Linked DNA regions of Homo sapiens: all the other regions are linked to region 1. The links are contacts of gene promoters, found by promoter capture Hi-C in blood cells and fetal thymus (Javierre and others, 2016). All regions are on one chromosome and are shown on one strand. Each heading gives the region's core, a stretch centred on a gene start or on the middle of the fragment in contact. The rest is flanking DNA. Distances are from core to core; before and after follow the strand shown.

Region 1 (6,851 bases), core at 1,489-3,988:
AGATGAGCACATCTTCATTTTCACCTGCAGACCTGTTCCAATTTAAGAAGCTAATGAGCACTTCCCTTTCCTTCAGGACTAAGGCAAGTACTAATCTAGCTGATTTCTGTCATTTGAACTTTAGTGAGAATAAAAAGTCGGGGACAGGTTTGGCTCTGGGGAGGGAAGGGAAGACATGGATGTGTGATAGGTGGGTAAGAGAGGGAGACCTCCAAACGAGGCCTGGAAGACAGACTGAAATGCATCCCACATTAGTGGCATGTGTCTCCATCCACTCCAGGAGTCCTCTGAAACCACAGAGGAGTGAGCATTATTGTCAACGATGATTAAATGATTGACCCCTCACAGATTAAATGCATGGTTTATCTAGATGTTTCTCTATAGGCACAGTTAATTAAGAGGGAACGGGATGTCATATCGGGAGGCATAAAGACTGGGCAGGAAGTGGGTGTGTGGGGAAAAGGAGGCAGTTAGTTCACAGCATGCCCCCGGTAATGGAGACTGGGGTTGGGGAAGGGGCTACATACCGTGTGTGTGAATTTACCACTTTGCCTAGCTCAACCTTGGTCAACATTCAAGAGTAAACTTTTGGGGAGCAGACCTGCCTCAGGGGTCATCCGATGTGGTCCTTTTTATTATTTCATTGGCTTCACATGATTACCCTGGGAGAGAGGAAATTTCCTTACAGATGACAAAATCAGGGCTGAAAGACGAAGTGGCTCCCTGCAGGGCTCAGCAGGGTAAGAAGTCCTGTCTGTCTCTGTCTCAGATCTGTGGCCCTTCTCTGTGCCCACTCCTACATGCCCACCGTGGAGGCCCACCCCTTCTGTCCTCAGCTCCTGCAGATGCACAGGGGCCCTTACTGGCTCCCACTGTGTGTGCCTTCCCGACTGCTCACATGTTCCGCCCAGACCCCAGGAGAAAGACCTCACTGCCAACTCTTCTGCACTGCAGGTGCCTTCTGCAGTGCTTAGAGATTCTGAACATATTTCCTTCTCAAGTAAACCATGCTGGACTTTTTGGATAAACTTAGTGATTTTAAAATGATTAAATAGGTAACTGCTGGGAGAGATCTGGAAGCATTCTTCTAAGGTGTTGATAAAATGTAAATATATTTTTAGAACAATCTTAGAGCTTATGCTAAAGATGAACTATGTAAGAAAGTTACCTTCTTCAGCCACTTGTAAATAGCAGTGTGGACCAATGCTTTGGATCCTCTTCCACAGGAGAGGAGACAAGATTGGAGGAACCAAAGAACCATGGAATTAGGGACAAATGGCTCAGAACAGTGCTCTGCAGACACATGCATCTGTACTTTGCTTCCCAGAAGCCAAATGAAACTGTTGGAGCTTGGTGGGCTCCAGGCCTCAGGGGGAAGACCACCCTAGGCTTTATCTTTTCCTCTGCCCTTCCTGCCTGCTGTTAGCCTCTCCTCTGGACCAAAACTCCCTTTAAGGGGAAAACCTCCTCTTTGAAGCCCACAAGATACGGTGAGGATTACTGCCTTTTTCTGATTTCCAACGTGGGTTTTTCATTAAGCAAAGAACAATTAGAAAACCCACACATAACATAGGGTATTCAGTAAGTTCAGGAAAGTGTTTTCCACCATCTCTTTGCCCCCATTCCCTCCCCAGCGCTTGGCTCAAGGTCTGGAGCTTGAATCTGCATCGTCTTCCTAGGTGCTTGCCTGAGGTGAGTGGTCAGCGGGTGCTGGCTTGGGGGCAGCTGGCAGGGCGTATGCTGCGGGTAGGAACCCAGGGAACACTGGGCGCCTTAGCTTGGAGCAGCTGGCTCCGAGGAATTGTTCCACGTCTGCACAACTTAAAAATCTGCAGTTTGGGGGCGGGAGGGGGAGCGCGGGGGTGGGTCCCGAAGCGTCCCATTTCTCCTCCTGGCTGTTAACTGAGCGCTCTCGCTCAGTGCAGCGAGGCCAGCGATGCCTTCTGGACCACACGCTGTCCTCGCCGAGGTCCTGGTTTGTTCCTCAACGTCGGCTGAAGGCATCGTCCCCTGACTTCCTCTTCCATTCGTCCTTCCGAAAGGGGACCCGACTGGTTCCTCTTCTACATATGAGGCGCATCTGCTTGGTGCAAATGTCCAAGCACCTCTTCTGACTCGGTGAGTGGAGGAATAAGACAAAGCATCTTGTTCTGCACTGTGCCTGAGTCTTCAGGCAGCGGGACCGATGGCAAACATTGGCAGGAACTGGAGCTATATGTACTCTCCTTCGCACTTTGTTTTAAAACAAGTTTGGGCCTCGCGATTTCCTGAGGAAATCCAGGCAAATTAGCAAAGTGTCGCTTGGGCCGCGACTTTAGAAAGGCGGTTGCCCCAGCCGCCGGGGCCGCGGGGGAGGTCATCTTTTTCCCGCAGGGCCACGGCGCTTCCGGCCCAGGAGGGCGCGCAGGTGGGAGGCGCGGGGCGCGCTCCTGGTCCCACCCGGACAGCGCCTGCCGCTCCGGGGTGACTCTGCACTTGGGCCTGGGCGGGGGCGCGCGGCCGGCAGGGCAGCATCTAGGTCTATGGGTCTGTCCGCCTGTCTGGCGGTCGGAGCCCCGCAGTCCTCAGCCGCCCGCGCCCTCGGCCCGGGGCGCCCGGCTGCGGGCCCGAAGCGAGGGGCTGGCGGAGCTGCGACCAATGGGGCGGCGGCCGAGCGGCGGGCCCCGCCCCGTCCCGTCCGGCCCCGCCCCGCCCGCAGCTCCCGGGAGCCTCGCTCTAGCGGGGCGGGACCGACGGACAGACCGGCCGACGCGGGCCACCCCGCTCTCCTCGCCGCCGCGGCGGCAGGCGCGGGGCCGCGCCGCGAGGCCTGATCCCTGCAGCGCGGGCAGGCGGCGTCGCAGAGCGGAGCTAGCTGGATGCGTCCGGACTCCTGCAGGTACCTGGCTGGCGTCCCCACCTCCCTGCGCGCTCCGGAGACTTCTCCGGGCGACCCTGCAACTTTACCGCGCCTTCCCCCACCTTTTGCTGCCCCAGTCTCCTGTGGTCCAGGTCGCGGGTGCACGACCCCGAGGGTCTACGGCCGCAGAGCACTTTCCGTCCTTCTGGGCGTCTGGCCCGCGGCGCCCGCATCCTCTGGTCCCCAGAGCCCGCCGTCGCTGGAGCCCTAAGGCTCCGCCTGTTGCGTGAACTGCGGGCTGTTGAAGCGGTGGCTGGGTTGATTTGAAAGCCTCGGGGAAGGTATTTAGGATCAGCTTTCGGGGAGTGGGGTGGGCTATGGTCAGGGGGAGGACCACCTGGAGGCGGGAGAATCGATGAGCCGAAGAAAGGCGGCACCTCGCGTAGGGGCATCCCCGGGGCGTTTCCTTGGCCGGGAAGCCGTTCCTTCCCTTCCTCGAGAGGAGGCGCTTTCCTGGCGCTTGTAAATGCTTCCCGGGCCGTCTGCTCCGCCTTCTTTGTCATTCCTCCCCTCCCCTTTGCCCTGCAGCTGTGCTAGGCGCCCCGCGACAGTTGCAGGGAAGAGCGAACCCAGGGCCCTTGCTCTCGTGCAGCGCTGCGCCCTGGGTGGGGACGGCGTGAGGCTTGCAGCGCAGGTGTGGAGTCACTTGCGGACTCTGCGTTTGGATCAGTGGCAGTGGTGGGGAAGGGTCACCCCGGGGTCAGGAACTCCTCTTTTTTTTTTCGCGCCTTTCTGGGTGGCTGCCCGACCTCCTGAGGCACCTTGGCTAGCAAGCGAGCCAGTCTTGCCGGCAGGGGCCGCGGCGAGCCTGGCTGGGCGCCTTTCGCATTGCAGGGCTTGTCCTGCACCCCCAACCCCGCTCTGTCCCTTCTCGTTCATTTGGAGAAAGGAGCACCTTTTGCATTCTTGATGTCTCCCCCCGGTTTTGTCTGGGGAGACCGAGCCGAAAGCTTCACTCGGGTGGCCCGCAGCAGGGGCAGAGGACAGCAAAGAGCTACCTCCACCTGCCAAAATGACCCAGGGGCCCTGGTTTGGTGCCAAGGCGTGAAGTGGGGGGAGGGGCGGTAGGTGTTCCTTACGTTCCTGCCGGAGAGTAGCTTTGTGGTTGGCCCGGAGCCTTCGTTCGGGTTTTTTGTCTTTCACCCTACCCTCTGAAAATACTGGAGCAGATGAGTACAAACAGTTCAGAAGCCTTTCCTGTTTCTTTCCCTGTATTTACTCAAGCGATTTGCGTAACCATTCACTTGGAACTGTGTAAGTCACTCCTAGTTGCCCCCCTTCTTAGACTATTTGCAAATACCTGCCCAGGTAAACAGGAAGCACGCACCTATCTCTTAGCTGAAGGCATATGCCCTCGTGCTTTGTCTTCCCTGCATATCTGGAGCCGAAGAGGTGGCTTTGATTCTCTAGCTGAACTTGGTGTAATGTGCAGGCTCCACTTCTTACCTGGGTGGTGACCTTCTTGAGGAGATTGACTCGTTCAGTATGCATTTCCAACCAGCCCGCCATGGGCCAGGCCCCAGGATGCACTCGGGGACAGACAGCAAATGGATGATATAATTTCTGCACCCAGTCTAGTCTGTTCTTTCTTTCTCACCAGCTTCCCTTCTTCTCTTGTTCTAATATTATGTTTGTCGTTTCTGAACTAGGAATTGTCAATATTGGGATCCGGAGAAGGTCATATGAAGGTGCCATAGAACTCTGAATCCAAAGCATGTTGTGAATATACTAAGGAGACTTGCGGGATCAGTATTAATTGAATCTTTTGTCTGACCCATAATTGCCTGAATAGAGCCATTGATGAATGCAGCTACGCTAAGGTTTTGCTGGTCAAGTGTATGAGGGCAAATTGGGAGGTCAGAAGCAGTCTTTGTTCTGTTCTGAAATATTATAATATTAAAAATCCAAAGCTCTGGAGCTTGAGTTTGCCAGCAAAGCACCAACTGAGTATCATCATCTTCTTTTAAGAAGGAAGGGGGAGAGTGGGAACTGCAGCTCCCTCCTGTCTTCAGTGGGTTTTGCCCTTCACTGTAATTCTTCACAGACGTGCATCCCTCTGTTCTACCACCCATCTCAATCTGCCCTGTGTCTGGCATTTGCCATTGGAATGTGTGTCAGCTTTGAGAGAGTAGGCACCACAGGGTTTTCCTCCTCCTTTTCCTTCTATTTTTTAATAGATAACATTTATTAGCTGCATACTATATATCAGATACTCTGCTAGGCACTTTTCCAGGCATTATCTCATTTAATTCCCATAACAACTGCATGAGGATGTGATGCTTGCTTTCTTCACTGCAGTATTGCTGTGGGAGCCAGCAGTAGATGGAACCCCCCAGGTGCATGTTGAGTCAGATGGGAGGCCAGTGGGAAATGGTGGGCCTGAGGTCTCACTAGGAGGAAGGACGACTCTGCAGGGTATGTTGAAGCAGAGAAGGTGGGTGTGTTTATTGACTCTGCTTATCAGGTGTCAGGAAAGTGCATCTTCCAGAGTGCCACCTGTGTGAAATACCCACAAAGAAACATCATAGAGAAGAGAATAGGATGTGGGGACCCAGTTTCCAGCTGTGATATCTATTTCTTTATGGCTCCTTGACTTGACATGTCATTTTGCTAATCTGGGTCTTGGTCTGTTTAGCTGCACTGACCTAGATCTCTAATATTTGTTGTTACGCTGTACTAGGCACTAAAAGCTAAAAGCTTTTACATGTATGAACTCACTTCATCCTGATGACAATCTTAGGATGGTAGGTTCTATTATCACCGTATTTTACAGGAGGAAAGAGAGACAAACTGAGTAACTTGTACAAGGTCACCCAGCCCGGAAAAGGTGAAGCTAGGATTCTATCCCTTGCAGTCTGACTGCAGAGCCACTGTGAGATTCAGTTTTCCTCATTTATTCCTACAGTTCCAACACTGTTCCCTGTGCTTAGTGGGATCTCGGACTACATTTGTTGAACAGTGACAGAGGGGGCTTACAGTTACCAAGTGACTTTTGGGTCCCATGTCTCAGCCTTAAAAGGAATCTCAAAGACTGCGTTAGCAAAATATTATTTTTGCCTTTGACAAAATGGTCTGCTTTTCGGTGAAATTCTGCCCAGCTGGTTAGGAAAAAAGGAAGATAAACCATAAAGATCATGGGCCAGGGAAACATTATGGTGAGTTTCAGAAAATGTGTTTATCAATATAAGAAATTCAGAAAAACCACAGAACACTTTGTACTCCGACGCAAATTTGTCAAGTAAATCAACCAGTGACCAATTCACAAGTGCTTATTGTATGGGTGCTAAGTGCCCAGTACTACAGGCAATGAAGGTAGGCAGAATCTATGACATGGTCTCTGAGCTTGAACTTATAGTGGATCTGGAGACTCCAGATCAGTGAGACAAGATAGAACAATACAAGATGCTAAATGTTTAAGTCCTGATAAAAATCACAATGACTCGGTCACATTTGTATAACCTATTGTGGTTTGTAGGAACTTTCACATGGGATATCTCATTCCAGTCCTCAGAGCAACTGAGAGTTATAAGCTATAGGTGGGACAGAAGTTAGGAAGCCCATATTGCTGATGAAGAAATTAAGGCAAACTGAGCCTTGAACTTGGACACAGTCAGGGGTCTTCTGACTTTAAGTCCAGCATCTTTCTGCCTCACTTCTCTCTGGAGCTAGAGAGCAGAACAGGAGGGAGTGAGCTATCGAGAGTCCTTGGGGAGTGGGGAACTGAGTTTGAATTTCATCCTGGACCTGGCCTTTGCTTGCTGGTCTTGACTACTGTGGGTGCTTATTGGAGGCAGGGGATGGGGAGTAAGTACAAGCTGGGGAGGAGGAGAAAGAGGAGAAGAGTGTTGTTGTTTTATTGTTTCAGGGGCCTGCTGTTTTGTGAAGCCTGGAGTGAATACTCAATTATCATGAACATAATAACAAGGCTTAAAATGTACAACAAAATGTAGAA
Region 2 (6,851 bases), core at 2,961-5,460, 500 kb after region 1:
TCTTGAAAGAATAAGGTATGTTCTGAAAACAGTAAAGATGTTCTTTTATTTACAGGGGAACTCAGTAACAGAATTCCCTGGTTCAGTATTTTCCATACACCAGTAATTCTCCCCTCAGCTTAAATTAACGGCCTCAGAGAAATAAAAGAATAGTGAATATCCAGCTTTTTACCCAGTGTCTAATGCAGGAGCCGCTAATGACCTCTTGATTAAATAGGGAGGAATGTTAAGAGTATTCACCCTATTCTATTTTAGGGAAAATAACAGGCTGGTTGGTAACTGCTGCAGTCAAAGATAATTGAGCAAAAACACATCAGCATGTATTTAGAAAGGGACACAATGGTACCATGCAGTAATGCACTAACTGCGAACAGATGTACCTTCTGCCATAAACAACACGTTTTGAAAATTGAGCTAGTCATTGACTTTTGATGGTTCCATTTATGATTATTTTTCAATTTTACGATAGTGCAAAAGTGATATGCATTCAATGAAAACTGTATTTTTTGAATTTTGATCTTTTCCAGGCTAGATATACGCAATGTGACAGCCTCTCATGATGTAGGGCAGTGGCAGGCAGCAACAACTCCCAGTCAGCCATGTGATCATGAGGGCAAATGACTCCTGCTCTGCAGTGTACTGTCTTTCCATCTGATTTTGCTCAACTGTAAGCCGATGTATGTTTTCTGAGCATGTTTTAGGAAGGCCAAGCTAAACTGTGATTATTTGTATCCACAGATCCAACCAACCACGGTTTCAAAATATTAGGGAAAAAATAAAAGAGAATAAAAACTACAGCAACAAAAAAATACAAATAAAACAATATCTTATAACAACCATTTTAACAGCCTTTGTATTGTATTAGGTATTGTAAGTCACTTAAGGATGAGTTGAAGTATACAGGAGGATGAACATAGGTTGTAGACAAATGCTGTCCCATTTTATATAAGGGACTTGGGTATTGGTGGATTTTGATATTTGCAGGAAATCCCAGAACCAAATCTCTACAGATACTGAGGAATTACTATATATTAAATGAATTTTCAATGTATAATATTTTCAACTTTTGATGGCCTTATCAGGACATAATCCCATTGTAAGTCAAAGAGCTTCTGTAGTCAAATTGCTAAAAACAGGTAGCAATAAGGAGAAAATATTAAAAGTTACTAGAAGAAAGACACATAAAGAGGAACAAAACTGAAAATAATCACAGTCCTCTCACCAGAAACTATAAAATCTAGAAGACAATAGAATAACATATTTCTGCTGAAAGAAAAAAAATATTTTCAACATAGAACTCAATACCTAGTGAATAATATTCTTCAAACATAATGGTGAAAAATTATTTTCAGGGAAGGAAAAGGTTAGCAAATTCAACTTTAGCAGATATACACTACAGAAATATATAAGAAAATTTTTAGGAAGAAGAAATATGATGTCAAAGGGAACTCTAATTTATATAAAAGAATAAAGAGTGCTAAAGATATTGAGTAGACTGATAAATATAAGAAATATTTTTCTCATTTAAAATTATTTAAAAGATAATTTCTTAAAAATAATAACAGTGTATTACAGGGTTTAAAATATATGTAAAAGTAAACTAAATGACAATAATAGCACAGAAGATAAGGAAAGGGGAAAATGGAACTATATTGTGGTAATGCTCTTACATGGTAAGTGAAGTGGTAAAATATTATAAGCTAGCATGTGATAAATTTTATATCAATACTGTAATCCCTAGAGCAATCACTAAATAATAAACAATAAGGTATAGTTAATAAACCAAGACAGAGATACAATTGATTACAAAAATAATTTATTCAAAGAAGTCAGAAAAGGGGAAAAAGGAGCAAAGAAGACATGGTTTAAATTTTAAAAATTTATACATGATATATTTAAACCCAACCACATGGATAAGCACGTTAAATATAAATGGTCTGAACACTCCAATCAAATGACAGAGATTGTCAGATTGAATAGGAAAAGTATGACCTCTGATTTCAACTTCAGCATGTAAACAGTTTGGAAGTCATCACTCTAGTCATCACAAGAAGAAGAAAAGCCAAGCAAACTAAAAATCCATGTCATTTCTGTGATCCATCAGAGGATTAAGATCACAGGGCAAACTACTACCCTGACATTTGGAGAGACTGGCACATATGAAGAACCACAGCCAAGATTAGCCCAAGAGTGGAAGGAACTGCACTCAGTAACTGGTAGGACCACCTAAACAATAATTTTCATGAATTGCTAAAGGTAGAGAGTATACTAGCTTGATACTTGAATGCTCCTAAAGAACCCAGTGTTAGGTGGTCCCCAACACCTAACAGGTGGTTGGGTGGTTGGGTGGTTGGTTTGCCACCAGAACACCCACCAGGTTCTCAAAGTGAGGATCAGAGAAATATCTCCTATGTTGCAGGCAGGAGGAGTGGGTAAAAATACATTCTGAAATACATCCAACAAAAAAGAAGCCATTTTGAAATATTATCAGAGAATTCTGTGTAACAATAGCCTGTCCTCTAGGGCAATATACTGCTTCACATCTTGGGGAAAGGCAATTAGACATTTTCCGACCTCTCTAGCCTTCTTGTCTCATGCAAGGGTGGGAAAAAAAAGCCCAAGAAATGCTTCTAAAGCTCACAGCCTGGAAACTCAGGCCCACTAAAAAACTGAGATTTAATCATAAGAATATACAATGCTTCTCTTTCTCAGCAGCTTACCATAACATAAACAGGACTCCAGTATAATAAAAATGAATTACAACAGAGAACAGCAAGCCATGGACTGTATTTATGAAGAAGTTCTTAGGGAAACCCAAACAACAGAGGAGAAAAAAAAACAAAATATACAAGGAAGCTGGAGGATACCAAAACCTCTGGAGCCTGAAACTACAACAAATAAATACACTGAAGCTCCTTGCCAAATTAACATAAAACCTTACACTAAAAGCCTAATTAACCTCATTTCCTATTACCCAATATGTCATGCCCACTTTCAATTAAAAATTGCAAGGCATGCTGAAAGACAAGGAAAAACACAAGAAGAGGGAAAGCAAGCAGCAGACTTAGAGATGAGACAGCTTTTGGAATCATTATATAGGGAAATTATGATAACTATGTTTAATATGAGGGGACTTCAAAAAGCTCACAAAAAATGCATATTATGAGAAAACTGTGCATGGATTCCAAAAATTGCCTGTACCAAAATAAACTCATAATGGCTTTTTACAACATGTCAGAACAGGATCTAGCCTGAGGCACTCGAAGAAGGATAAGAATCAGTTTGAAAGGAGCCCCTATCAGAGCAACATGAATTCTACTAAAATTGAAGCAAGAATAAACATCAAATCTATGGTGAAGCTTTGGTGGAAGAATGGTGAAGTCACTAGTGCTTTACAAAAAGTTTATGGGGACAGTACTCCAAAGAAAACAGTTTACAAATGGACAACTCATTTTAAAAAGGGATGAGACAATGTTGAGGATGAAGCCCACAGCAGATCATCCACATCAATTTGAGAGGAAACAATTAATCTTATTCATACCCTAATTGAAGAGGCCCGACAATTAACAGCAGAAACAATAGCTGACACCATAGACATCTCAATTGGTTCAGCTTACACAATTGGGATTGAAAAATTAAAGTTCTGCAAGGTTTCTATTTGATGGTTGCCAAAACCACTGCACCCAAATTAGCTGCGGTAAGAGCAGAGCATTCAATGGATTTTTAAAAATGAGATCAAGATCCTGAAGCATTTTTTGACAAACTGTAACAGGAGAAGAAACATGGCTTTACCAGTATGATCTTGAAGACCAAGGACTATCAAAGCAATAGCTACCAAGAGGTGGAAATGGTCCAGTCAAAACAAAAGTGGGCCAGTCAAGAGCAGAGGTCGTGGCAACAATTTTTTGAGATACTAAAGGCATTTTGCTTGCTTACTTTCTGGAGGGCCAAATAATGATAACATCTACTTATTATGAGAATGTTCTGAGAAAGTTAGCCAAAGCTTCAAGAAAAAAAAAAAAAAAGTTTGGGAAAGCTTCACCAGAGAGTCCTTCTCCACCATGACAATGCTACTGTCTGCAGTGCTACTCCACAGTGACAATGCTCATTCCTCTCATCAAATAAGGGCAGTTTTGCAAGGGTTTTGATGGGAAATTTGTAGGCACCCAGCTTATAGTTCTATTTGGCTCCTTCTGACATATTTTTGCTTCCTACTCTTAAAATACCTATAAAGGGCACCCATTTCTCTTCAATTAAAAAAGTAAATAGACTACATTGGCATGGTTAAATTCCCAGGGCCCTTAGTTTTTTATTGATAGACTAAGTGGCCGGTATCATTGCTTACAAAAGTGTCTGGACCTTGATGGAGTTTATGTTAGAAAACAAAGCTTATATTTTTTATTTTTATTGTTGAATTCAAATTTTCCATAAACTTTTGAAGTCCCCTCATATGCTAAGGGCTTTAATGGAAAAGCAGACAATATGCAAGAACAGATGGTTAATCTAAGAAGCAAGATTGACACTTTAAGAATCAGAAGGAAATGCTAGAAATAAACACTGTAACAGAAGACTTTTAAAAATTTATTTGCTAGGCTAATCAGTAGGCTAGACATGGCTGAAGAAAGTCAGTGAGCTTGAAAAGATGTCAAACTGAAATGCAAAGAGAAAAAAGAAATGAAAAATGGAACAGAATATCCAATAACTGTGGGATAATTACAAAAGATATCACATGAATATAATGGGAATACCAGAAAGAGAAAAAGAAACAGAAGAAATATTTGAGTTAATAATGCCCGAGAATTTTCCAAAATTAATGCCAGACACCCAACCCCTAATCTAGAAAGTTCACAGACCACCAAGCAAGATAAATGCTGAAAGATCTATAGCTAGGTATACCATATACAAATTACAGAAAACCAAAGACAGAGAAAATCATGAAAGTGGCCCTAAAATAAAAACACCTTATTTAAAAGAAACAAGGATACAAATCGCATAAGACTTCTATTCAAGAAGCATTCAAGGACGAAAAATGTGGAGTGAAATTTTTTTTTTTTTTTTTGAGACAGAGTCTTGCACTGTTGCCCAGGTTGGAGTGCGGTGACGCGATCTCGGCTCACTGCAACCTCTGCCTCCCAGGTTCACGCCATTCTCCTGCCTCAGCCTCCCGAGTAGCTGGGACTACAGGTGCCTGCCACCACATCCGGCTCATTTTTTTGTATTTTTTAGTAGAGACAGGGTTTCACTGTGTTAGCCAGGATGGTCTCGATCTCCTGGCCTTCTGATCTGCCCACCTCGGCCTCCCAAAGTGCTGGGATTACAGGCGTGAGCCACCGCACCCGGCCTGGAGTGAAATATTTAAAGTGTGACAATAACCCACCAAGCTACAATTATTATCCATAGAAATTTTCCTTCAAAAGTAAAGGAACAATAAAGACTTTCTCAGACAAACAGCAACTGAGGGAATTTGTGAGCAATAGACTTGCCTTGAAAGGAATGTTAAAAGAAGTTCTTCAGAAAGAAGGGAAATTATGGAAGTTAGAAACCTGGGTCCACATAAAGAATAAAAAAAAAATCAGAGAAGGGATAAATGAAGGTAAAATAAAATATTTTATTTTCCTCATTCTTAATTAATTCCTTAGAGTATTAATAGCTAGCAATGTGTTGCATCATTATAGCATACGAATACATGAGAAAAATGACAGCAAGGGTATTGGGGATGAAAGAGAGACACTGAGAATACTCTGTTACAAGGCACTGGCACTACCCAGGAAGTGCTATAGTGATGCTTGTAATGGACTAAGATTGGTTGTGAGTGTATCCTGGAAACTCTAGGGCAAACATGGAAGAAACAACTTAGGGCTCTACCCATCGCAAAGCTACTATACCAGTCCTGGAGAGTTTATGTTTATGTGAGGGAGAAATTAATTTCTATTTTATTTAAGCCTTATTTTTTTGATCATGACAAGAACATTTAAGATGAGATTTACTCTATTAACAAATGTTTATGTGCACAATGCCATGTTGTTAATTGTAGGCACAATATTGTGAGCAGAGCTCTAGAATTTATTTATCTTGTGTAAGTGAAACTACATACATTGAAGGGCAGGGGCCTGTTTTTTAAAGTTGTTTTGTTTTGTCATATACAGCCAAATAAAATGAATACTAATAATAAATAATAAAAACTGGCTTATGAATATATAGAAAAACTGCAGGGTTTTATAACTATTAAAAAATTAAATCAGTGCTTCAGGTCTTCCCACAAGGATCAAACAGGGTGCAAATGAATAAACAGGTTAATTCTACAAAGCTTTGATAGAAGAAAGAATTGCAGTCCCACAGCAACCAATTTTAGGATGTGTAACACAGAACACTCCCTAACGCTGAGATCAGGATAGCTTTGATAGAAACGTCTGAAAAGAACAGTATAAGGAAAGAAAGTGCCAGGCCACTTCTAATGATAGAGGAAAATCCAAAACAAACTCTTGGCAAACTGAATTGGACGATGTATAACAAATTGATAATTAATACTTTATGACAAGCTGTCTTTATTCCAAGAATGTAAGGTTGGTTCAAAATAGAAAATCTTTTCATGTGATTTGCCATGTGTATTAGTTTTCCATTACTGATGTAATAAATCCTGAAAATTTATCATATTATAGTTCTGAAGCTCAGAAGTCAGATGGAGGCCTCACTGCACTAAAATGAGGGTGCCGACGAGGCTGAATTATTTTCTGGAGGCTGCAGTGGACAATTTGTTTCCTTGGTCATTCGGATTGTTGGCAAAATCCAGTACCCTGTGGCTGTAGCACCGAGGTCTCTGTTCTCTTACTGGCCATAAACTGTGTGCTGAT
Region 3 (6,851 bases), core at 2,807-5,306, 300 kb after region 1:
TAACAGCATATGCAAAAGAGCATATGCAAAGAACAGGACCAACAGGTTGAATGGCAAGTAGCTTGTTGCAGCTGGCAAAACAGCACACTATGGGGAGTGGCCACAGGGCACGCTAGGGGCTGCCATGTTCTTGGGAGGATTAAGTGAGTGATATGGTTTGGCTATACCCCCACCCAAATCTGAATTTTTATCTCCCAGAAGTCCCATGTGTTGTGGGAGGGATCCAGCGGGAGGTAATTGAATCATGGGGGCTGGTATTTCCTGTGCTATTCTGGTGATAGTGAATAAGTCTTACAAGATCTGATGGGTTTATCAGGGGTTTCCACTGTTGCTTCTTCCTCATTTTCTCTTGCCATTGCCATGTAAGAAGTACCTTTTTCTTCCCACCATGATTCTGAGGCCTCCCCAGCCATCTGGAAATATAAGTCCAATTAAAACTCTTTTACTTCCCAGTCTTGGGTATGTCTTTATCAACAGTGTGAAAATGGACTAATACAGTGAGAAAACAGATGTGAAATGTTTTGTAAACTCTACAAATGTCAGCATATTGTTAAGTAACTTAAAAGCATGATATGCTATGCTAATAAATTTTTATTTTTATTTTTTTCCCTGTAGGTCTGTGAGAGCCACTTCAGGAATTTTTTGCTTGGAGTTACATGACGAAATTTGCATTTCAGAAAGGCCACCTGATACTGTATGGAGGATGGCCTAGAGGGCTGAACTGATGCTTGAAGGTGGGTAAAGAGGCTGTTACAGGAATTTGGGTGAGAGATGGTGAGAACCTGCACCAGAGCAGTGGCCTAGGAGGTGAAAAATGGGTAATAGTTGAAAAGATTGTTCGGAGATTGCACTGACATCATTTGATGACATTTTGGCTGTAGGCAGAGAGTAATTAAGAGGTGTTGCAGTGATGCCTGAGTACTTTCCCACATGGACTGCTAGGTGGATTCTAATGCCACGTGTTAAGAGAAAAAGCCCAGCTCTATCAACACTTGTACCCTGCACCCTGAACAGCAATTGTGCACATGCTTGGAATGGAGAGGAGGGGTGGGAATCTGAGCTTGGCTTGGTGCCAATCCCTACTAGGGCCATGGAAGCTCCTGAGGGTAGGTGGAGAACAAGAAGTCTGTGAGAGGGGCTGGGCTTTCTGATATTCATTTCTTGTCTTGATTTGCTGGCTTATCAGAAGAAAGCCCTCCACCCTGGCCAGCCAGGAATGCCAGTGCTATGCAAGCCAGCACTTGTGGCTCCACAACTGAGCAAGGCCTCATTATTTTTCAAGAATACCCTAGTAAGGGTCTTTATCTTGGACAAAGAAAGCTATTAAAAATGTATAATTCTATCATCTGCTCTCTGAATTCGTAGTGTGGTTGCAACAGGATTGGATCCAGATAGAGATTGGATCTCTATTTGACCAGCTTTCTCTCCTCCAAACCACATGGATTTATTTAGCCACTTAAGTGTGACGGTTAAGGGCCAGGCTCTGGAGCCAGTGGGCCTGGATTCAAATCTCACCTCTGCCATGGACCCTTGCCATGTGGTTTCAATATTATGTGTCTCAGTTCCTTCAAATGTAATGTCACCTTCCTCATAGGGTTGTTATGAGGTCTAGATGAGTTAATATGTGTGAAGCACTTGAAACAATGCCTGGCACAGAGCAAGCTCAGTATAAATATTACAGCAAGGTACTGAATGCCGCAGGAGAGATGGGTTCCAATTTGTCGGGCTTCAGATTCTCTGTGATTTGCCTTCTTTTTTCTTATCCTTTGCTGAGTAGTCACTGGTGGGCGCAACACTTGACCCCTGGAATGGAGTCAAGAAAAGAACCTGGCTCTTGACCCACTTGTGGAGCCTGAAGTGCTGAGCTGCATACCAGGAACCCTCTTGGCTGTTCAGGGTGGAGGACTTTCCTTTGATCAGCCAGCAAATTAAGACAGGAAATGAAAATTGGAGGTCTAGGGCTCTGATGATATGTGGCATCTGGATCCCTAATTCCTGATCTTTGTTTGGGTCAGATTTGTTATTTCTACAGAACCAGAACACTGTCGTTCAAATGATTTTGGCTCTCTCTGTTAGTTATTTCAAGTGTGATAAATTTCTCTTAAATTAATTACAAACAGAAAGGGTATGGTGAGTCAGCTCGTGTCTGGAATGGAGCCCATAAGCTAAGTGTAGGCCGTGAGACTGCACTTGCATCATGAGCAGAATGGGGAGATGAGAGAGATGATTTCCAAACAATGAATGGTTTTTAGGTGGAAAATACAATTCTGGTTTAGTGTTTTTCTAAGATCTTTTCCTTTAAGATGAAAACCAGGGCTTAGTTACAAAGGTGGACATGCTGTCTAGACATCATGAATGCTAAAAGAAATGTGTGTGTTTGTATGCACCTGTGCACACACTATAAGCATATGAAACACACCTGTGACCTATGCAACAAATAAAAGTGACACGTCATGAATGCTCCCCAAATCTAACTTCAGTGCTACATTTTAAAAAAGTGATGGGGAAATACCTTCTTCTGGAGGCTAGATTGCCTCTGTATGTGTGTGTGGGGATTGTAGGAGTAGGGAGACTTCCTTTTTGATAGGGAACTTGGGGTAGAGAATCAACCAAAAAGCAGCCATCAGAGACTCGTATGCATCCAGGACTGTTCTAGGTAGCACGGAGGACTCTGGTTAAGAATACAGTGATGAAGCTTTGAATGTCCAGTGAAGCTGGGAGGGCACAACTGACACGCATGAAATGGTTTGAGAGTAGACTATAAGGAATAAATGAGTCTGGGGGAAAAAGAGATCTAAGAATTTTAGAAAAATGGTAAAGCTTTAGAAAAGAAGGAAGCATCGTTTCTCGGCCTTTTGGCTAAGATTAAGTGAAAAGAAGGAGGCAGCTTCCCAGGAAAAGTAAAGTTGAAGGTGAGCCTTGGAGCATGCTCTTTGCAATGTTTTGGGTATTTACTTATCCTCTTAATTAACTGAGCAGGAGAAAAAATGCATTTTTCTAGCTGATTTTCCTTGGCACAATTGCAGGCCACATGATGCCACCCATTGGTTGAAGCTGAGATTGTAAATATCTCCCAGAGAAGCTAAATGTAGAGGGATTCACACAGAAATGGAGACCACAAAGATCTATAATGCCTCAGCTAAAGTTTGCATCAATTTTATATTAGCATTTACATTTGTAATATGGGGAAAATATCTGTTTGCCAACATTACATAAGCAGATTTAAAGTACCTAACATATTTTACTGAACACAGACATAGATGTGTATAAAGCAGCTGTGGTACATTTTTCCTCCCCTGGATCAAGGCTAGAATGCTAATTTTCAGTGAAGTTTCTGGAGAATATGGTAATTTGTTATCTTAGCAAATTTTCAAGCTAAATTCATTCCCTTTTTTCTCAGCTTCCTTTCACCACAACCTACTCTGGTTCTAGAAAAGTATTGAACCGAAAAGCTATTGACTGCGGATTGATTGGTTTTAGATTTTTTTTTTACAATATTTTAATATTGGTTTTATTTCACATTTAGGCAGCTTGAAAAACCATAAAACATCCTTTGCTGTGGTCAAAAATTTTAAATCTCATATTTTTAAGAGGATTATGTGTCTTTGTATGTTTGTGTGTGAAACACTGAACTAGAATTTGTGGTCTCATTGTAGTCATATTATTTTGGATAGAAGTTTATACATTCCCAGTGCAGATCTTAAACAATACCTCTGTGGTAGCTACAAACATATTAAGAAAGCTAGCTTTGAATGGAGATTTATAATTCTAATTCAGTAAAGACTACTGAAGTACCATTAATCTTTCCATGCCCAAATCCTTAATTTTTACCCCCTTCATCCACTTTGAACCTAATCAACTGAAGCAGGACTGGAAGCATAGAAACTAAAGCATAGACTTTGAGTGGTTGGAGACATTTAACATTTAGATTTCCAGTCTCTTGATGAACAAAGTTACTGAAATTCTGACCTAGCAGAGGCAAATGGGCATAGTGCACACTTGAAATCTATATGTGAGGTTATCTCATGAATTATTCTATTTGAGAATAAGCTGAAAAGAAATAGGTATTCCAAACTCAGATATGATGCTGGTATTCAAAAAGAGCAAATAGACCATAGAAGTGAAAAACATTAAAATAATTTGATCAAGGTTTGGAAAGGTGACTGGACATAGAACTAGGCTCTCATTGATATGTGCATTTTACTTCTCTCTTTCTCCTATTAGCAGACTATCACTATATTAATATGGCCTTCCCTTTTTCCTTGTTTAGGTATTTCATTGGAAAATAGAACTTAAAGGTTTTCTTCTATTTTGTTTTTACAGTTAAACATTAAACTTTAGTGCAAAGGCATTTTCGTTTGATCTTGCCTGAATGGTTCAATATTATTTCTTGGTATTTTTGAACTTTCATATAATTCAGTAATTCTTCAATTATGCAAGTGTAATTTATGGAAAAATAGTAGCATTTTACAGGTGGGCATGGATAGAGCTCTAGCTCTGGAGTCAGGCAGACACAGCAACAAATCCTAGGTCTTGTGGGGACCAGATGTATAAGACTAATCTGGACACTATAATTCTTTCACCATCGGTTTCAGGAAAAGTAAAGAAAATAATTTTCTCCTTGTAGATATTTTTGTGAGATTATATTTGTAAAATGCTTGGCAGAGAGTCAATGGCAGTTCATTCATTTCTTTATTTACTTTAGACAGGGTCTTTCTCTGTCACCCAGGCTGGAGTACAGTGGTGCGAACATGGCTCTTGCAGCCTTGACTTTCTAGGCTCAAGCGATTCTCCTGCCTCGATTTCCTGAATAGCTGAGACCACTGGTGCATGCCACCATGCCTGGCTAACTTTTAAATTTTTTGTAGAAACAGGGTCTCTCTATGTTGCCCAGGGTGGTCTCAAACTAGTGGGCTCAAGCGATCCTCCCACCTTGGCCTCCCGAAGTGTTGGAATTACAGGTGTGAGCCACCATATCCTGCCTCAATGGTAGTCTAATAAAGACAATTTGTAATCCAAACTTGAAAAAATATCAACTCAGTTCTCTTACATTTATGTTTAATAAATGTTGCAGGGAGATGAACTCAGAACTTTGTATCTTAGAATATTTGCAGTTTCTTCTTATTATAGTTATTTGGGTCTTTGTCTCATCATCTACTCTATGAGCCTCCGGTGGAAGGAGACTGTGATTTCACCATTGTGGTATCCTTTGCAGTGCGAGTTCCCAGTATATCATTTGCCAAACCCTGGTCCCAAAATATGCTCCTCCAGGGAGAAATGGTCCATGATATAATAAGCTTGGGAAATGTTGCACACTCACTATGGCCTCTCTAAGTGCTTTCCAACTCGCATTAACTCACTGAATGCACTGAAAAGCTAGGTAGAAGAAAATCTTCACAATCTATATGTCTGTCAAAGGATTAATATCCAGAATCTGCAATGAACTCAAATCAGTAAAAAAAGACAGTCCCATCAAAAAGTGGGCTAAGGACATGAATAGACAATTTTCAAAAGAAGATATACAAATGGCCAACAAGCATATGAAAAAATGATCAACATCACTAATGATTAAGGAAATGCAAATCAAAACCACAATGCAATACCACCTTACTCCTGCAAGAATGGCCATAATCAAAAAATAAAATATCAGTAGATGTTGGAGTGGATGCGGTGATCAGGGAACACTTCTACATTGCTGGTGGGAATGTAAACTAGTATAGCCACCATGGAAAACAGTGCGGAGATTCCTTAAAGAACTAAAAGTAGAACTACCATTTGATCCAGCAATCCCACTACTGCGTATCTACCTAGAGGAAAATAAGTCATTATTTGAAAAAGATACTTGCACATGCATTTTTATAGCAGCACAATCCACAATTGCAAAATAGTGGAACCCACCCAAATGACCATAAATCAATGAGTGGATAAAGAAACTGTAGTATATATATATGATGGAATACTACTCAGCCATAAAAAGGAATGAATTAACAGCATTTGCAATGACCTGGGTAAGACTGGAGACTATTATTCTAAGTGAAGTAACTCAGGAATGGAAAACCAAACATTGTACGTTCTCACTGATATGTGGGAGCTAAGCTATGAGGACGCAAAGGCATAAGAATGATACAATGGACTTTGTAGACTTGGAGGGAAGAGTGAGAGGGGAGCAAGGGGTAAAAGACTACAAATATGGTGCAGTGCATACTGCTTGGGTGATGGGTGCACCAAAATCTCATAAATCACCATGAAAGAACTTACTCATGTAACCAAATGCCACTTGTACCCCAATAACTTATGAAAAAAATTTTAAAAAGGGAGCTCTAACTCTGTTTAACTTCATGTTTCTCAAACTTACTTGATTATGTTTGTTTTTTAATAGCCTCTTAATATTTGGCGTAACCCTCCTCTTATAGTGGCTAGTGCAGTGTTTGCAAAGTAGGTGGGCAGTAGATGTAGGGCATTATGTTGTATGTATTTATATTACATTTCATATGTTTCATTTTATATAAATCTTAATGCTACACAACCTTTTTTAGATACATCTTGCCATTTATTATTTAACATAATTTATATATTTACCAAATATATTTCAAAAAATATGTATATATATGATAAAACCAGAATTAATATTTTAAATTTACCAAAAGCCCTTGGGAAAATATTATTGTAACAGCTCTTTAATCCTGTCCACATTAAATAGATTTGATTTTTCTCATCAGTTTAAGAACCCTTAGGCTACTGGAAAGAGAATTGAGTTCCATATGTGAAATGTGCCCACTTAAATTAAAATGTTAATTAAAACAATAGCAACAATTGTAAAAACAATGGAAATTTCTGTTCTTTTAAAATGA
Region 4 (6,851 bases), core at 1,335-3,834, 270 kb after region 1:
AGTCCTGAGGTGGTTCAGGTTATCACATGGTGAAGGGTCTAAGCATGTAATGTGCTAGCTCAGGTATTTCTTTTTTTTCTTATAAAGGCACCAGTTCCATTTTCATGATAACCCAATAATACATTAACCCATTAATCCGTTAATTCGTAAGTGGATTGATTCTTTCATGAGGGCAGAGCCCTTAAAGGCCCACTTCTCAATACTGCCACCTAGAGGATTAAGCTTCAACATGAGTTTTGGAAGGGATATTCAAATCATGGCAATATATTGCCTGACAAGCAATTCTGCTTTACATCCTTCGTGATTTCCCATAAATCTCTGAGGTCTTACTTTATTTCCAAAGGAGAAAGCTACTAGTCTCTAGAAAAAGTGTCTGATGCCTTGACTCATTTGCTTTGTAGAGTATTTTTGCTAGAAACCATAGTCTTACAAGAAGAGAGCAGAACTCACTATGTTCTTAACTTTGGTGTCAAATGAGGATTGTTTCAATCAAAGTCATAAAATTAAATAAACACTTTATTGGCAAAATGGCAAATATGCTATTCTTCCAAATGACTATAGCAATATAGTCCAAAGGACTAAGCTTCCAAATGACTAAAGCAATTTTCTTGCTTTGAACTTTCCATCCTGAGTCTTCACATTGATTAATTCACTCATTTATTCATGCAAAAATATCTCCTATGCATGTATCAGGCATAATTGTTAGAATGATGACTAAGGCACAGACCTAACCCTTAGGGAGCACACTGCCTATGGGGAGGACAGTCAATTAAAATGCAATCAAAGGGACATAGGACCAATGTTACGTTACCAGGAAACAGGCGAGGACAAAGGAGACTAAACTCAGCCAGAGAGTCTTAAAAAGTGATACCTACTCCACATTATCACTAAAATAGGAATTTTGATTGAAACTCTAGGGGTTGGCCTCAGAATTATAGCTACTTTCTTATCTATAATGAGCATTTGTGACTACTTTTGTTATATATATTCCTATGTGGAAAAAGGTTAAGTTTGTGTATTTTGCATGGGATGATAGTTTGGACTCCTACCATGTAATCTCAGCCTGTTCTTGGGAAATATTATAGACAAGTAGTTCTCAAAATGTATTAGAATCACTTAGGGGCTTAAAATGTCCAGACTCTACCCACCCCTAGAAAGCCTGGTTAATTGGTCTAAGGCAGAGATGGTGTTTTTCAGAAGCTTCTCCACATAATTGTAATATGCAGAATTTGTGATAGAATTCTGCCTCCAGATAAAATTGTAAAATGATCCTGCTGAAATGGCCCTTAGAAATCAGCCAGTGCAACTTCTATTTCCTATGTTAGAGAACTGGGTTGTGGTTTGTATTCCTTGGAAGGTATTTGTTATGGGTTGAAGTGGATCCTCCTAAAATTATTGATGTTGAAGTCCTAACCCCCAGTACCCCAGGATGTGACCTTATTTGGAAACAGGCTTCTATTAGTTCGTTCTTGCAATGCTGTGGAGAAATATCTGAGACTGGATAATTTAAAAAGAAGAGATTTAGTTGGCTCATGGTTCCACAGGTTGTACAGGCAGCACAGTGGCTTCTTCTAAGGAGGCCCCATCAAGCTTCTCGTCATGGTGGAAAGCAGAGGGGCAACAGATGTCTCATATGGTGGAAGCAGGAGCAAGAGAAAGAGTGAAGGGAGAGGTGCCACACATTTAAACAACCAGATCTCGTGAGAACTCATTCACCATCTTGTGAACAGCATCAAGAGGATGGTGCTAAACCATTTCATGAGAAATCCATCTCTATGATGCAATCACCTTCCACCAGTCCCTACATCCAACACCGGGGATTACAATGCAATATGAGATTTGTGTGGGGACACAGATCCAAACCATATCAAGGCTCATTTCAGATATAATTAGTTAAGGAGGTGGACTCTTAATCCAATATGACTGGTGTTCTTATTAAAGAGGGAAGGTTGGACTCAGAGATATGCACACAGGGGAACGTCATGTGAAGATTAGAATTCTGCCACAAAGCCAAGGAACTACCAAAAGGTTGGAGAGAGGCTTGGCACATACCCTTCCCCAGCACCTTCAGAGGGGGCATAGCCCTGCCGACAACCTGATTTTGGACTTCTGGCCTCCAGAACCTTTAGACATTGAATCTCTCTTGTATAAGTCATTCAGTTTGTGGTACTCTGTTAAGGCAGCCCCAGCAAACTCATACAGGATCTTTAACATGAACTTAGCCCTACCCTGGTCAACATGGCTATTCTCACTCCTAATGTGGTGAATGGGTTGCCCACTTCCTATTTTCCTCTCCATGATAGCCAGTGAAGGCAGGTCACAGGTCCCTGCTTATCTGAGGGAGGAGGGTGCGAGTGTATGTGGCCTGGGCAGCTGGGCGACTCTACCATGACCAAGGCCTTCTCTTGACACAGTCTGATTTGCCACTGCTGCAGCCAGGGACAGAGTGCTCTGCCCCCATGGAGAATTTACAAATGCATTTTGCTATCATTTGTAAAGCATGTCTCAGAAACAAGATTGCCAGTTAATATGAAATCTGTTTATATAGAATTAATGTCTTTATGATTGTGTGCATGTGTATGTGTGTATATGTGTGCATGCCTGTTTATGGGCATGAGAAGACCCAGACAGACACCTCTGACTTTGCTCTAAGGTCAGAGCACTGCTAGCTCTAGGGAGGGTTCTGAGTAGCCAGGGCTGCAGGCTCTCCCTGACCTGGTAAAGGCCTTTCTTCATGTTTCTTGGCCTTTCTATTCTCTGTTCTCTTCTCCGTTCTCAACATTTTCATTCTCAACCTTCCTTCTTTTAATTTTCCTATTGCCTTAAATACTCCTAGTACCTCTGAGCCTAGGAGGCAGATAGCGTATAATCATTTTTTCCCCTAGATCCCCTGGGAGGTGGCTGGGATATGCATAGTAAAAATTTTCTGAGGGTTCCTGAGGTAGATCTGTGTTTTTTTCCTTTCTCTTTCTGTGTTTGCATCATATCATAATAGAATTATAACTGTGGAGCCCTGGTTATGAAGGAGACCTGGAGATCACCCTGAGCAAAGTCAGAACAGAAAACTGGGTCCCAAAGGGAGAGTGGTCTTCCTATGGCCACACACTGACTGAGTGGGGAAGCTGAGTGGAGCCTTGGCCTTGTGACTCTCCATCTGCTGCTTTTGCACCCACAGCAATTCATATGTTGCATTTACTAAGCTGTAGGGTCCTGAACAAGTATTTTAATGACTCTGAGTCTTGTGTCCTCATTTACAAATGAGGATCATGTTATTTAGGTGGCAGGATTGAAGATTACAAGGATTTCTGTTTTGGAGTTGCTTCACTTAAGAAAAAGGCCTCCAGTTCCATCTATGTTGCTGCAAAAGAATATTATTTTATTCTTTCTTATTGCTGGGTAGGATTCCATTGTGTATATGTACCAGATTTTCTTTATCCATTAATCTATTGATTCTATATCTTTGCTATGGTGAATAGTGCTGCAATAGACTTATGAGTGTAGGTATCTTTTTGATATGTAGGAAATATATGGTAAGCCCTGATTTCATCCCTTGCAGCCAGAAGATCCTCAGCATCTAGTTAAGCTTGAGCGTTGTGAGGACAGATAAGGATGATGTTCTGGAAGATAGAGTTTATGCAACTTAATACAAATGATTTGTTCCTCACTGTAGTCTCTCTGTTGAAGTGTGTGCTATCAGTTTCCAAAATTATGAATAGCTTGAGTTGCATCAGCAGAAAGGCAGAAAAAAGAACAAAGCAAAAACACAACATATCTCTAGCCGGCCAATCTACCTATTCAAGCTGGTTGATTTTTCATTTAAAATTTGTTTTTTAAAACCCTCGTAAGAATGGAAGTAGAGATCTCTACTCTTCCTCTTTCAAATACTTCTGAGACTAGAAGATCAGAGGAGGAAGGAGAAGAAAGGAAAAGAGAGAAGAAGGCTAACACAGAAGTCAGCCTATGATCTTGGAAAGAAGGATGTCACCTCAGGCCCTGTGACAGGTGCAATTGGAATATAGAAGGGGCCAGGCTGGCAATGTATTGTGTCTTGTAAAGAATGAGGGCAGAGGGGCAAGGCATCCCCATCTTCTGAGGGGTTATAGTGACACGGTGTCAGGTCTGCTGGGTCCTAGAGGTCATCTTGAACAACCTCTGTCTTCAACAGACAGAAATTAGAGGCCAGGAAGGCAAATGAGAGAGACAGTGTTTATTGTCTACAAGCCCTGGAATAGGTCCTTATGACACATTGTCTAATTTTGTTTGCTGTGACAAGGCTTCATTAACCCTGTTTTCAAGGCAGAAAACCTGGCATGAGAGCAGATGGGAAAGGGCTGCACCTGCCTTGCCACTCAAGCCTGCCCAGATGTTAAGGAATGTTTTTTACCATGGGAAGCCAAGAGTGTAAAGCTTCCCCTTTATGGACTCAGTGGAAGTAAAAGTAACATTCACAACTACTTGTCACTTAATGGAGAGGAGATTTCTCATTTTAACAGAACAGACATTTGTTACCAAATGTAGTTGGCTGACTAATGGCCTCCAGCAATATCCAAGTCCTAGTTCCTGCAACTTACAAATGCTACCTTTTTGGCAAGAGGGACTTTGTAGATGTGATCAAGTTAGGGATCTTGAGATGGGGAGATTATCCTGGATTATCCAGATAGGCCCTAAATAGAATCACATTGTCCTTGTAAAAGGGAGGCAGAGAGAAGTTTGACTACAGGTGTGTATTAGTCATGGTTCTCTAAAGGGGCAGAACTAATTGGATAGATGAATATGTGAAGGGGAGTTTATTAGGAGGACTGACTCACACAATCACAAGGTGAAGTCCCACAGTAAGCCATGTGCAAGCTGATGAGCCAGGAAGCCAGTATGAGTCCCAAAACCGCAAAAGCAGAGAAGCCGGCAGTGCAGCCTTCAGTCTGTGGCTGAAGGCCCGAGAGCCCCTGGCAAATCACTGGTGTAAAGTCCAAGAGTCTAAAAGCTGAAGAACTTGAAGTCTGATGTTCAAGGGCAGGAAGCGTCCAGCACAGGAGAAAGATGAAGGCCAGAAGACTCAGCCAGTCTAGTCTTTACACGTTCTTCTACCTGCTTTATTCTAGCTGTGCTGGCAGGTGATTAGATGGTGCCCGCCCTGACTGAGGATGGGTCTACCTCTCCCAGTTCACTGACTCAAATGTTAATCTCCTTTGGCAACACCCTCACAGACACACCCAGGAACAATGCTTTGCATCCTTCAATCCAATCAAGTTGACACTCTATATTAACCATCACAAGATGTAAAAGGCAACATGAAGACTGAAGTCAGATGCTACACCACTGGCTTAGAGGATGGAGGGAGGAGCCACAGGCCAGTTATGCAAGAAATGCAGCTCTAGAAGCTGAGAAAGGCACAGAAATGATTTGCCCTTGGAGCCTCCAGAGGGAGCAGGGCCCTGCAGGTGCCTTGATTTCAGGCCTCTGAAACTGATATGAGACTTTTGATCCCCAGAACATTGTGCTGTTTTAACCACCAAGTTTGTGGTACTTTGTTACAGCAGCTGTAGGGAATGAATGCACCAGGGACAACTATTCCTATCAGTGAAGATGGGGTTTAGGGGTATGATGGCCTTGGTGACAGCAGAGTCCCACTGAGCGTGCCCATTTCTTGTCACAAACATAGTCATGAATGTTCAACGATGCGGCATCTGGGCCAGTTGTAGAGTATCTGGAGAACAGAAAACTGCCACTGAAGGCTAAAGGTCTCTGACCATGATTTTAACTGGTTAATCTGAGTATCGGGTACAGCTGTCCTTCTGATTGATAGAAGCTGTGTAGGGGCAGGGACATTCCCTGATGTTTGAATTTGGGGAGCAGAGGAACTTTGGGCAAGCCTGCCATTTGCAAAGCTGATGGACGTCACATGCAGGAAAGTCGGGAAAAAGGAGTTAAGATGAAAAGCACCACCTGAAAAGAGAGGAGTGTAGGGGACAATACCTCCCTGATAAAACCTGCCCATTATCTTTTTCCTCCTTACAAAGATTAACAAATAGGATAAAGGGCAGGAAACAGGTGCCACCTCATACATTCTGACCAGCAGTGTGATGTGCAGGAGCATGTGAGGTGCTCGAAACATACCCGCTATGTTACTGTGATGGCAGAGGTAGGATTTGAACCCTGGGTTACATAATTCCAAATTTCTCGACACACACAGAGTTGGAGCTGGAACACAATTTCCTCACATCTGGTCCAGGGTCCTTTCCACCTTATCATACCACTTTCTTTCGTAAAATGAAATATTCTTAGCAGGATGTTCTATCTACTTACCTGTGTCCAATATATTATTTTGTTCAATCTAACAGAGATGCTTATTCCTTGTTTCCATCAGGCAAAGAATTAAGTGTACTAAAGAGAAAAAAGTTGAAATTTTGCAGAGAGGGTATAGAATTTTTAAGAGTCCTGAGGGAGAACACGATGATGTAATTTATTGAGTGTTCTTTTGTGCAGTGTGCTTTACATCCATCATCCTTACAGGACTTTGAGGTTAGGTTTTATTATCTTCAGTTTGCCAGTGAGGAAAACTGGGGTTTAGAGGGGTTAGGAAATTGTCCAAAGCCACCAAACCACGTTAGTGGTTCTCAGCCTTTATCAAGCACCAGAATCCCCTGCTGGGCTTGTTAAAACACAGATTGATGGGTCCACTTGCAGTGTTTCTGATTTTGCATGTCTAGGGTGGGGCCAAGCACTTGCATTTCTAGCAAGTTCCCAGATAATATTGATGCTGCGTGTCTGGGCACCATACTTTCGGAACTCTTGGTTTTGAATGTTTTAAGAAGGATATGAAATCAGAGCAATTTGAATCTAATTTAGGCTGC

What was found. The method cuts DNA at HindIII sites, captures the fragments that hold promoters and counts their contacts. A CHiCAGO score of 5 or more calls a contact.
Region 2: a fragment that was not itself captured here is called in contact with the fragment with the promoter of KCNS3 in region 1 in 1 of 17 cell types (endothelial precursors); the score reaches 6.1 in endothelial precursors.
Region 3: a contact is called between a fragment that was not itself captured here and the fragment with the promoter of KCNS3 in region 1, in 2 of 17 cell types (megakaryocytes and M0 macrophages). The highest score is 5.4, in megakaryocytes.
Region 4: a fragment that was not itself captured here is called in contact with the fragment with the promoter of KCNS3 in region 1 in 4 of 17 cell types (fetal thymus, megakaryocytes, M1 macrophages and 1 more); the score reaches 6.9 in fetal thymus.

The regions. Positions count from the first base shown.
Region 1 is chr2:17,875,929-17,882,779 of GRCh38, forward strand. It overlaps KCNS3 (potassium voltage-gated channel modifier subfamily S member 3), which reads left to right and starts at 2,739. Exons shown (of 3, transcript NM_002252.5): 1 at 2,739-2,878. LOC124907737 (a long non-coding RNA gene) reads right to left here and starts at 634. Exons shown (of 2, transcript XR_007086226.1): 1 at 1-634. RefSeq lists silencers at 2,350-2,509, 2,520-2,719, 2,810-2,859. The HindIII fragment of the contact is 4,070 bases long and covers 1-3,847 here.
Region 2 is chr2:18,370,050-18,376,900 of GRCh38, forward strand. No RefSeq gene overlaps it. Among named protein-coding and RNA genes, the nearest start is that of RDH14, 190 kb to the right of the region's middle. The HindIII fragment of the contact is 352 bases long and covers 4,035-4,386 here.
Region 3 is chr2:18,169,775-18,176,625 of GRCh38, forward strand. No RefSeq gene overlaps it. Among named protein-coding and RNA genes, the nearest start is that of KCNS3, 290 kb to the left of the region's middle. The HindIII fragment of the contact is 2,477 bases long and covers 2,819-5,295 here.
Region 4 is chr2:18,149,652-18,156,502 of GRCh38, forward strand. No RefSeq gene overlaps it. Among named protein-coding and RNA genes, the nearest start is that of KCNS3, 270 kb to the left of the region's middle. The HindIII fragment of the contact is 1,993 bases long and covers 1,589-3,581 here.